3 separate regions of the Homo sapiens genome follow, and all the other regions are linked to region 1. The links are contacts of gene promoters, found by promoter capture Hi-C in human tissues and cell types (Jung and others, 2019). All regions are on one chromosome and are shown on one strand. The core of a region is centred on a gene start or on the middle of the fragment in contact, and the rest is flanking DNA. Distances in the headings are between cores, read along the strand shown. Region 1 holds the start of EPHA7 (EPH receptor A7). Region 2 overlaps EPHA7 (EPH receptor A7). Region 3 overlaps EPHA7 (EPH receptor A7).

Region 1 (4,107 bases), core at 1,288-3,787:
GGGAAGAGGAGAGTGGCTTTCGGGAAGCATCTCCTCTGAGGAAGAGGCGGCGGCGGCGGCGGCATTTACGGAGAGAAAAAGTAAGCAGCTGCACTTTGCCTTCAAGCGTCAGACTCTGACACGCGCTCCCTGTAGCGATGATAACTGACCAACCCGAGAGAACGTGCACAAGGAAAGTGAGGGAAGGGGGTTTCTTATCTTCCTCTAGCCACCCCCAAATGCCCCAGGAGGCCCGGCACCTGCTTCAAGCGGTTCCCAGCGCTAGCCCTTGGGTACTGCGGGCCGCCTCGGGGCTTGTGAACTCCTAGAACGCCAGCTCTTGGTCGCCGCTGCGCCCTAGAGGCGTCGCCGCCTAGAAGCCGGGCGCACTCGCCGCCCGCCAGCCACAGATCACCACCCTCCCTCCCATCACCCCCGCGCCTTTTATACATCACACTTCTGCATCTAAAGAATTCAGGCTCTTAGAATCAGAATCCTCTTCACGTAGCTTGCACCCAGAAGAGCAAAGAGAACTAGACATTCTGGCTGCAGGAACCTCTCCCCCTAGTGATGCAGTTATTTATAGCCCAAACTCCAGCCCGAGTCTGCGTGTGTTCGCGCGCGGGGTTTCGCCGCGGCGGTGCAAACTTTTCCTCTGGTCCGCTATTCCAGAGGAATCACAGTATGCCAGGGCTGAAGGTTTCTGATCGCTAACGTCAGGGGAGTAGAAATGTGGTTTTGGAGGGGATGAGCGTGCGTTTCTAGCAGATGTCCGTCCTTCTGCAAACGCGTAACCGCCAGCTTGGAGGCACGGGGTTCTCTGAATGGGTTCAGCATCTATACAGGTTGCAGATGTGGAAAGTGGGGTCAGAAGGTCAGGCTGAAAGAAGGACTAGAATTTGGCGCCGGGTTTGAGGGGGGCTTGAGCGAACTAAGAGGAGTGCACGATGAGAATAAAGAAAAGGTGCACTAAGTTTTCAGAAATAGATGAATCAAGGACCTATATGTAAGTCCCCTCAACACCCCGCCCGATAACCACCATGACCTAAATTTCATAACAGATTCCTCTCCCTCTACACATCAGGAATAAGTAATTATTTCTCTTCTGCTTTTAACAGATCGAAAAATGAAACTTAGATACACAGCCTGAAAGACCAGGGGGGCGACGGGATGAGGGGGGTTGGGGATGGGATTGTGACACTGCTCAAAAGCAAGAGACTTCCATTGACAGGGTTTATTTTTCCCCAGCTCCAACTACAGGCACCGAAAGGTATTTTACCTTCTGTCAAAGGTTCAAAGAAGGAAAACATAACCATATACAGGCGTATCTGTAACAGCTTGCCAAATAAAACCTGCCTTCTCCTACCAGAACCAACCCTCAGGGTTCAGGTCTTTGGCAAGGATTGGGCACTCGGATTCCTCAATTGCTGCACTATGGGGCAAATAATTGGGGACTTTGAGTCGCCCAGGCGGCATCCTTACAAATTGCACAGCTCCAGCCCGCCCCCTGCCTCCACGGCCCGACCAAGCCCGCTGGGCTGCCGCTGCCCCCATGACCGCTGGGCCCGACGCGCAGCGCGCGCTGAATGGAGACATCCCCGGCCCTCGGGTCGCGCGCCGCACGCCGCGCTTCACCTCCGCGGCGTTATTGTTCCGTGCTGGCGGCCGAGCGCCAACCGCAGGACCGCGCCGCCGCCTCCGACGCAGTGAGCACTTCATTAGTAACCCGAGCTTTCCGAGCTCATCGAAGTCTCGGTCCCTCTGGGAAGGCTCCGGGCTCCCGCCACTCGCCGGCGGGCTGGCGGAGACGGTAGGGGCTGCATTTCCCAGTCTCCAACCCAACTCTGGCCGCAGCTCCCACAGAAGGCGAATAAGGAGACAAGGAAGACCGAGCTAGAGAGAGATGTGACCCGCCTGAGGTACTAAGAAATAAGCTCGCCGGCAGTTCCTCCAACCCCACCCCACCCCCGTTGCTGCTCACGCCCTCCAGACTGCCCGCGCCAGAAATCCCGCACCCGTCGGATGGACGGCTCCGGGCACAGGGCTGTAGGCGGCTCGGAACAGCCCTGGTTCGCGCTCGCTGGTCCGCCAGGAGCGGCCTCAGCGGTGAGGGGGCGGGGAGCCGGCGGGGGAGGGTCGCCCGGCGCCGGAGGCGCGGCCGGCAGCGCCGCGGACGAGCTGGCTTGTGCAGGTAGACATCTAAATAAATAAGTCAGAACAAACTTTGCTTTCCCATCACCTTACCTTCCTTCGCAGCCTGCGCCTCCCCTGTGTGTGCAAAGCGGAGCAGCCAGATGTAGCATAAAATAATCCATGAAGGGTACCGAGTTTGAAAAACCATGGTGCATGAGCAGGTTTTATTTTAGGTTTCAGTTATCTTGAGTCGTGGATTTTTAAATGCTGTTTGTTCCGAAGTAGCTTTTGTTTTATTGTGCTCCTTGCATCGATTCCCCTTCTCGGTCCCCGATCGGCTGCTCCACGTTTAGCTTTTTTTAATTTCCCCCCCACTCCTGTTCGCTCGCACCGTGTTTGCTGCCTGCAAGTCTCCGACTGCAGACCGGCCGCTTGCTCCACACTCCAATAATATCAATTAGGGGGGGAGGGGGCGGGGCTCCGAGCTGAGAGCCTCCGCCACTCGGGCTGAGTGGCAGGCACAGCCGGCCTGCCAGGAGGCGATTCCCAGGGCCAAGGGGCGGGTCCCGGCGAAATGGCCGCCCCGGCCACGGGGGCGGGGTCCGAGGCAGGAGCCAATCGGTGCCGAGCGGAGTCAGGTTGCTGGTCCAGGATTCCCTCCAGGTTCTGAGCTCGCGCTGGATGTTCAGAGGAGAACGAGGATGGTAGCCGAGGTGTGTGCTGCTTTGGACGCTCTGCTTTTAGCAACCGCAGCTTTCGCGTAGCAGAATAAATCCGAGAATAACGCTCCCAACTTACACTCTTTTCTATAGCTGTACTCCGCGCGATCTTTTAGAAACCAGAGGCGAAGCAAGCCTTCTCTCAGCTACCAAGCACGGAGCCCGGACAGTGAAATGAGCTGTGCCTTTAAGTAAAGTGTGTTTTACTTTTTTGTTGTTAGAACCTCCGCGGGCTGGGTAACTTTGTTTTTTGCCTTTTTGAAAAGTTTCTACTTCTCTTTTTCTGTTACTCCAAGAGCCGTCAGTTTTAGGTACCACCCACCACAATCCCTGAAAGAATAAAGTAACCAAGTGTATTATGTTTAAACAATGTTTCCAAGAGTTTGCAACAAGCTCTGGCAAAAGAAACAGAGGAAAAGGGAGTGGGAAAGGAAGTCTTTTGTTTTAAGCGCCCCTTCTCCTCCGCCCTGTCTTTTCACCATAGTTTGTTGAGCGAAGTGAGACATTAGGAGAGAACCTTCTGATGGTTGCGTATCGTTTTTTTACGCGTTTATCATTTTCTAAGGTTTTCCTTGGATTGCCTCCACTTTGATAGTTTTCCATTTCGCTGCATAAATTACACTGAATTTTAAAGAATGCCACTACGTATTAAATTCATAAAGCAAGACCTTTCTCTTCGCAAGTATTTACCATTTTCAGGAATTATTCAATGCTTATCTTTCAAAGAGAAACTAAGAATAAAAAAAGTCATAACCAATATCTCCAGTTGAATTCATTCAACCCGAACGGCAAGGAAGGCTGCGTAGAGAAATCTGTTTTCCATTAGGCAGTTTCGGACACTTTGTATTCAAGAGGTAGGTAATAAGAGGAAGAACTTTAAAATTTTAATTGCCAAATCTTCAATTTCAAAGGTCACACAGAGTAACTTGATCACATGTTTAAGATGAATTTCTTTTTTTGTCCTATAATTTCTTCCTTTAAAAATATTTCTCAGTCATTTATGATTTCCTTTTATTTCCGATAGATCCAAAGTTTGATCTCACATAAGGCTCCAAACTTTTTCCAACCTTTCTATCTGGAAATATAAAGTAAATTGAGTTGTTTCTGCTTTTTATAGTAGGGAGTTCTCTAAGATGACAACCCCCAGATATTTATTTGTATTTTATGTTAAATTGTCTCCTGTAGTTTTTATTTGCCTAATAAAATAACATGGAAGAGAGATATGAAATTTATTCTTTAAACCTCTTTGATTCTGTAGTTTCTGAAACATTTCTTC
Region 2 (3,887 bases), core at 782-3,281, 69 kb before region 1:
CTTGTCACCATAACCTCAACATAAGCCTATTTCATTACAAATATTAACCATATCAGAAAAGGATAGTTTTGACAACTCAGAAAGATACTGGGACTGGAGATCAGGGAGTTGAGGTGGCAAGATTAGGGTGTGGGGATGAGAACACAGGTTACTTAGAGGTATTTCCTTATGTATGTTTTAATTGAGAAGAGTCATGGCACAGTGATGTGCTGTAGCCTTAAAGCTGTCACCAAACCAAAAAAAATACAAAAATATTAAAACCTAAATATACCAAACTATAAAAAATATTAAAATAATGTATGAAAAGCTGATATTATGTTCCTAGGTACTAAAGAAAGCATCTCCAATCCTGATCTCTGTGCTTCTACATATTCAATGTTATATAAAAGATATAAATTAATTATATTTTCAACAAGCTTTCAAAATATGAAGCATTACGAAAGTTTTCAAAGTTAAGGTTTATTTGTACCTTTAATATTTTATAAGAAGGTTAAGCTTTTGTTTAAAATTCCTGTGTAAATACCACATTATGGCTGTAAACAGTTTAAGATTTTAAATATATTTACAGTTTTAGGACCAAATTGCAAAATGACTATACTTGAAATTATTAACTTATGTACTCATTGCATAATTTAAATAACATTATATCATTTGAATTAAATTAATGTCTTCTGTAACAACCTAGATAGTCTAAGAAATTTTCTTTGCATATTACAGTATACAAAGAATTTATGTACTCAGCCAACAAATATTTACTAACCATCTACCCTGGGCCCAATATGTTGATGGGGCTAGAGAGTATGATCAAAGGTACCGCCATTTTCCCCTAATGAAGCCTAAGAGGAAAGATAAACTTTTCACAACTAATATGTGAAGAATATTACAAATATATGATACACTTAGTATAAGACCATATCACAGAAACATGTAATTTTCTCTTAAACTTACATGATAAATTCGGAATGTGAAGATACTGTGCAAACATATGGGCCTTTACGTGTAAAGGAATCAACATGTTTTATACTAAGCACTACATAAATCCTGGTTATTAGTATTAATGTCAACATGGTAGTATGTTACCTAATTAAAATTTTATTAAAATAGTTATCTAAAATATCATCCTTTTTGTATGTTTTAATAACTTACAGCCACTAAATAAAAATGTAAATGTATCTATATATATATGTTTTCATATTTATGGTGTCACAAAAATACTTAAATAAATTTCACTAACAGTCTAAAGTTACTCCTTGTTTAAGCAAAGCATATGAATTACTAAAATGTCATGCCCTGCAGGGCATGAATTAGAATGACTAAATCCTGCACTTTCGGATACCTCAGGTTTATAAAATGTCTAAATGTAACAGAAATGCATATTTTGAACAGTTTACTGTTAAAGGAAATTTATTCGATTGATTCTCTGCTGCAGACGGCATAGGTGTACATATGAATGTATGTTTTAATAACAATAACACTATCTCTACAAAATGGTTCCTGTTTTTTGCATTTATATATTTTTAACCTAGTGATAAAACAATTATGCCTTGTTTCACCCTGTGGAGAATGCTGTGTTTAATATTACTTTATATAACCAATAAATGTTCTAAAATAAGAAAATATATTTTCTCAATATCATGTTCCTTTAAAATATAAATCAATCTTATATATTCCTAACAAGTATAAAAATATACAAATTTAAATGGAATTAATTTACTTATTAAAAGACATATAACTTGATGTGTGTCCATTAAATCATTGAAAAGAGACGATCTACGTTAATTTATGAGAAAACAGTCACAGTTGAGTCACATTAATTCATGTGAGTGAAGCTACTTCTGACAAATAAAGAAAATGATTGTTGGTTTTGTCTTTTTTGGGGATAATTTTGCTTATGTATAATGTTATATCACATGACTCAGGTTATATTTCATCTGGTACATTATATAAACATTACAAATCAAAGTAAAGGGAATACTGACGCAAACCTTTATTTTGGCTGAGAAATTAGATCTGGGCATTGAAAAACACAGGAAAGTCGGTCAGTTTAAAATATGCAAGGCTATTTTTAAAGTTTCTTGAAGAAAGATAATAAAACAGTAATGAGAAGGCAAATGCTATATTTAGCAATGCTATCCCACAAAGATTACATTTGTTAATATTCTCAGGAAATAACACTTCTTAGTAGGTCTCCTTTTCACTTAACAGCTCTTATCACTGACCATTAAACCAATCTGCAATTTCTCGTGTAATGGATTATGGAGCTACATTTTTAAAGATAGCACTCTATGGTAAGATTGCATAAACAATAATTTTGAGGTAAGAAGTGTATTTGATTGCAATCATTTGGGTCATCACTATATAATTTACCGTGTGACCTTTGTAAAGTCATTCGAACCCTCAAAATTTTACTTTTAAAATGATATCAGTTCTTGTCTTAACAACTCCACAAATTTAGTTCAAATTTTAATATAATCTGAGTGAGTGTCATATAGATCATTCATCCATACACAACAAAATTGATGATGGGGATAAAACATAATTCTTTTTGAGAGACTCTAAAGAGACCTTTGAAGATAGTTGAGATGTCTCCACACCCTGATGGCAGATTCTTTGAAGCTTTCTTATATTTTCAGAAACTGTATGTTTTGCACATTTTTTCCACAGTAACACTAGGCAGGAATTTTTTTTTTTAACAAACGACTATATGTAATATGTGAAATGTACTGCGGAAGATACACAAAAGTTTAAGTTAAACCAGGGTCAATCTGTTACTTTCCTGTTCAAAAACACTCCGGTTTCCCCGCTGTCTATCAGAAAAGATTCTTTTCCTAAAAATAAAAATTCCCCAGTAATCTTTCCCACAAATCTTTATTCATCCAGTTCATACCATTATTCCATAATCACACTCTGAATGCTGCCACTCTTATTCTTTTGCATAATTTAACCCTCTATAATGGATATTGTAATGGGCTGCCCACATTCTCCTTAGAAAAGCACTGAAGAAATTATTTGCCCAGCTGCCGAGATATTTGCCAGAAAACAGGCCTCAGTTCCCTGCCTCATTTAGAATTTCCTTTCTGAAAAGTAACACCTTGCTCACTCCTAGGAAAAACTGCAACCCATGTCTGGACAACATAGACGTATAAAACTGTCACCTAGGGACAACCTGAGGGTTCATTACAGGTAGAGCACTCCCCATGGAGTTGGCTGATGATTCCAATGAGACCCCATCACAGCTCAGCCCTGCTCTGCTTGGTCCTGCTTGCTTCCCTTCTCTCTGATGGTGTTGATCCCAAACATTCTTCCTAATAAAACTCATGCACGCTAATCTCCATATAAGTATTTGCTTCCTGGGGAGCCCAACTTGAGAAACTATCCCTAACCTCTTTCAAGAGGTTTCAGTTTTCATCCTAATTCCTTCCAGATGCTTTCCAGAGCGTTAAAATAGTTATCACTCTCATTAAGAACTGTAGTATATGTACAGTATCACTCACCTATTAATAGTGTACAGTGAATAGTGTAGCATAGTGATACGTTTGTACTCTATACTGAGTTACTACTTTATTTATTTAGTTATAAATATATGTGGAGGTCTGAGAGGTCTTATGTCCCAAATCTCTCCGTTGCCTATGGGGAAAATATGAGGCCAAAAAAGGTGACTCAACTTTGACACTCTTTTCATGCACATTTTACATTTCAAAAAGTACCAGGAACATAGTAAGTGTTCAATAAATAGTAATATTTTAATTACTGCTCTTATAATTGTTTCAGGACAGTAACACACCTTTTTATTCTAATAAATGTACCTGGAATTAAGCTATTTGCTCAATTTTTACAATATGACGAGTCAAATAGTGTACCACTTGAGGAGAAAATTCTAGTATAAA
Region 3 (4,289 bases), core at 114-2,613, 110 kb before region 1:
ACTAAATTAGTCCAAACATGTCTCTAACTCTAGATGGATTTTTTAAAATATAATTTGACTGCAGAATTTTGTAAGTGGCCTACAATTTTTCTCTGCTTTTATAAAGTCTCCCGAAATCCCAGTTGAATGACTTTTTATTTTGCTGATAGGCCAGAGAATGTATTGAGAAGTTTACATTTTATCTCACTTAATATGATAAGGGTACAATAATGTTAGCTTCTGTTGGGGTGAAAATATAAAAAAATGTCCTCAGGGAATTTGCCAAGAATCATGTTTGCACAAAGTACTAAAAAGTTTTAGGAATATATTTCTTAAATATCCAAATGGATTAATTAAAGCAAATAATTTCTTTTGAACTAGCCAATCCCACAAATGTGTGTGCATGGCACAGTATGATGGACTTAAAAATGACAAAACCAAAGGACTCAGAGTAAAACAAAGACCTAAATAAAGCTAGGTCATATTTCATGTAAACTATGTTATACTGAACTAAATATACATTTTAATGTAAAACAAATTCCAATGTTTAATAAAATGTTCAGTTTAAGTCAGTTGCTTTCACTTTTCCTGATTTCTAAACTAAATCCCATGTGCAGTTCAAATCAATATTTATCATGAAATGTGTAAATAATACATCTCCTATAAAAATAATCAAATTAACTTTCCAAAGCATTAGACAATCATCCCTCAGTTTTATTTTCACTATGCTACAATTTGAACCGAATTATGACCTATTGTAAGAATGCTTAGTTTTGGTCATCATGTGAAATAAATCAATTCCCTCTAGAAGGAGAAAAAAACTCTCTTTATGAAGATGGATCAAATAAATTCTACATTTTAGTAGCAATTATAATTAATTTTAACAGAAAATATCATAGGGGATTGACACATTTAGAATTGCTCATATCTCCATTAAATCATAATATAATACTATTGCATAAAAGAAGTATAATTATAATATTTGAATACAGGACTTAAACATAACTGCTAATAAAAATAAATTCAGTCTATAAATTATCAAACCCATCTAAACTGCATCTCTTTATAAAGAATATTTAAATAATGATACCAATTATTGCATCAACCAAATGTTAGATATTCTGTATTTTTTTAGAAAATCAACCAATGTGACAATATGTGGTACCAAAAAGAAAAAAAAATTCACCATGATAGCAAACATAAATACAAAATTCTAGTTAAAAGACACTGTCCACATCATTTAACAGAAATAAATGAAAGATAAGAAAGCTTTGAATGTATTTAGGTAAAAGTTGTTCTGACACTGATAACACATTGAATAAGCCCTATGCAGTGATTTCTAGCTTACTCTGGGCTAAACCATTTCCACAATCCTTTAAAGAATAGGTATTGTGGAAAATAAAAAGAAGGATGTAATCCCACTTTTTTCTTCCCAAAATAGACAGATTCTAAGGATTGAATCTATTCAATGAAAACTAAAAAATAATTTCTAAGTTTTACACTGTAAAGCATGCAATTCTGAGCCAAGTTTATTTGCACTCCCCTTAGGCTGACTAATACAGATTAAATCTTATGACATTCAGATTAAGTAGTTAGTAGACAGTGGAAAAAATAAATATGGTAAGATATGTATGCACATATATTACATATTCATACAGACCAATCATTATGCTTATGTTTTAATTCCCTAATGAGTGGATAAACATGTACTGTCCTCTTCATTTTGAGGATAGTACTACTACTCATCCATACGTTGAGCTTGGGAGAAACCAGGAAGATTTAGTAATAATGAGAGTAACTTCTATGGTTACTCAAAAATAGTGAAAGTAGTAAACAATATCTACTTAGTTCTCAAATATCAAGACTTTTTCCCGATGAATATGGATTTGTGCACTTTTGTTCAGATGTCATCACTATCAGAATAAAGAGAGAATATGATCCTGAGTTGCTGTGCTCTTGGTGCAGGGTGTAGGCTGGGAGAAATGCTAGTGTGCAGAAAAAGCTAACAATAATCAGTCACCGAAAACTGGCACTGTCCAAACAGAAAGCATATTCTTTGTATCTCATGAGATGCTGACCATTTTTAATCTTTTGAGGTTTAATCACTCGAGTGACATGCTTACATGATAATTCAAACTGTCTCAGGCTCTAACTGTCAGCATCCCCTCTTGCTCGGGATACTAGGATTTTTTCTCTGTGGTTTGATGATTGGAGTACACAGGCTTTTCAACACCTGCTCTGGCTACTGTAGAATAGATTACATTATACCAAAGGAAAATATATCTTATTATTTTTTGCTGTTACAATTAGAAGCACTACTTTATTTATTTACTTTTTTTAGAGTTTGATCTAAAAGCCATTAGGAATGATATCTTTAAACATGTGGTGTGTATGTAGGACTGGGAAATGTTGGACCTAAATTTCTCTGCTGTAAGATTCACTTAATATGTTAGTATATCCCTTTCTGAGATGTACACAGAAAGGAAACAACATCTTACTTACGTGTTTATTTTCAAAGAAAAGATATATTTGAAATTTATTTGTTAAAAGATGTTTGAATTATTTATAAATAATTGTCAAACTAGTTGGGACTTTTAAAATCTACACATAGGTATTCAACTATATAGTTAAGAGTTAATAGCTAGTTAGGAATATACTAACATACTAAGTGAATCCACAGCAGAGAAATGTAGGTTCAACATTTCCCAGTCCTATATAAATACCACATTTTTAAAGGCATCATTCCTAATGGCTTTTAGATTAGGGCTCTAACCTCTGCACATAGGTGTTAAGCTATATAGTTAAGATAGCTAGCTGACTACCTATGTGTAGATTTTAAAAGCCCCAACTAGTTTGACAATTACTTACAAATAATTCAAACTTTTTTTTTTTTTTTAAACTACAGAGTCTTGCTCTGTCGCCCAGGCTGGAGTGCAATGGCATGATCTCCGCTCACTGCAACCTCCACCTCCCGGGTTCAAGTGATTCTCCTTCCTCAGCCTCCTGAGTAGCTGGGATTACAGGCATGTGTCACCATGCCCAGCTATTTGTTTTGTATTTAGTAGAGACAGGGTTTCACCATGTTTGTGGGGCTGGTCTCAAACTCCTGACTTCAGGTGATCTGCCCGCCTTAGCCTCCCAAAGGGCTGGGATTGCAGGCGTGAGCCACCGCACCCAGCCTCAAACATCTTTTAACAAATACATTTCAGAGATGTCTTTTCTTTTAAAAGCAGCATATAAATAAGACTTTATTTCTGAAATTCTTCATGTTATGAAGGCTACTTTCAAAATGTTCTATACATATATTTTACCATATGAAATGCTGATATGAAGAAATTATTGTAGTCATCCAAGTTCTAAAATATTTTTGGGCACAATTTTTTTTTCAGCACTTATAATCATAATTAAAAAGCTCAACTTGATATAAAATAATGACTTATAAAGACATTTTCATTTTTAATTAAACATTGCAAAAAGTATCTGTTGCCCAATAAGGCTAATTAAAATATCTTTATTACATATGCTATTGAAATAAATCTATTTTTTGAATTTCATAAACTGTGATCCTATATAATTCAAGATAATTATATAAGAAAATAAATTCATACCCATTCAAATATACCATTATAAAATATTTTATCATAAAACATTCTATACTTAAGATCAACATATGTGAAGAACAAAATGAATATTCACAGAGACTAGCAAGTAAAAGCATTAACATAACTTCTGATGTTAAAGGCCATGAGTAGTTGCACAATTAAATGAACAATATCGTTAAGTATTCTGTTAATGCTCTAATATCAGAAAATAACATTTTTTAATTTTGACTTTTTAAAATGGCAAATAAAGAAAGTGAGATCAGAAGCATGGAGAATTAATTTTTAAGAGGTGGATTTTAATCACTTTAGTCATTTTAGATTTGGTTCACAGTCCTTAATTTCTTGACAGTTTAATTGCTTTATCAGGCATCTAGCAAGTACATTTTAAAAGAATGAAGACTAAAAAGAGGTATGTTTTTGAACAGTCTTCAATAAAAATGAATTATTTAAATTAACTTAATTTTCATGGTGCTAAAAGGTTTTGGAATAAATTACTTGGCCTATGACATGAGTCAGGTTCATAGAAACTTTGGTTATGACTTCAATGGAGAAAGTTGTACGGCCACCCCCAACAAGTGATTTTTCAGTTATATTGTGATACGCACTGAAAATTAAATAAAAATAAGCAATGGAAAAATCCCCCAATAGATGACATCAATGTTTTTACACAATGTTTCACTTTATAGTTTCACAAAACTTAAAAAACAA

The links. The method cuts DNA at HindIII sites, captures the fragments that hold promoters and counts their contacts. A contact is called where the count stands out against the background at its distance.
Region 2: a contact is called between a fragment that was not itself captured here and the fragment with the promoter of EPHA7 in region 1, in 2 of the 25 tissues and cell types used here (heart left ventricle and hippocampus).
Region 3: a contact is called between a fragment that was not itself captured here and the fragment with the promoter of EPHA7 in region 1, in 2 of the 25 tissues and cell types used here (dorsolateral prefrontal cortex and mesenchymal stem cells).

What each region holds. Positions count from the first base shown.
Region 1 is chr6:93,417,022-93,421,128 of GRCh38, forward strand. It overlaps EPHA7 (EPH receptor A7), which reads right to left and starts at 2,538. Exons shown (of 17, transcript NM_004440.4): 1 at 2,224-2,538. The coding sequence starts at 2,320. RefSeq lists a silencer at 2,586-2,785. The HindIII fragment of the contact is 11,378 bases long and covers 1-4,107 here.
Region 2 is chr6:93,348,066-93,351,952 of GRCh38, forward strand. The region is part of intron 5 of EPHA7 (EPH receptor A7); the gene reads right to left. Among named protein-coding and RNA genes, the nearest start is that of EPHA7, 70 kb to the right of the region's middle. The HindIII fragment of the contact is 4,485 bases long and covers 1-3,887 here.
Region 3 is chr6:93,306,090-93,310,378 of GRCh38, forward strand. The region is part of intron 5 of EPHA7 (EPH receptor A7); the gene reads right to left. Among named protein-coding and RNA genes, the nearest start is that of EPHA7, 110 kb to the right of the region's middle. The HindIII fragment of the contact is 6,151 bases long and covers 1-4,289 here.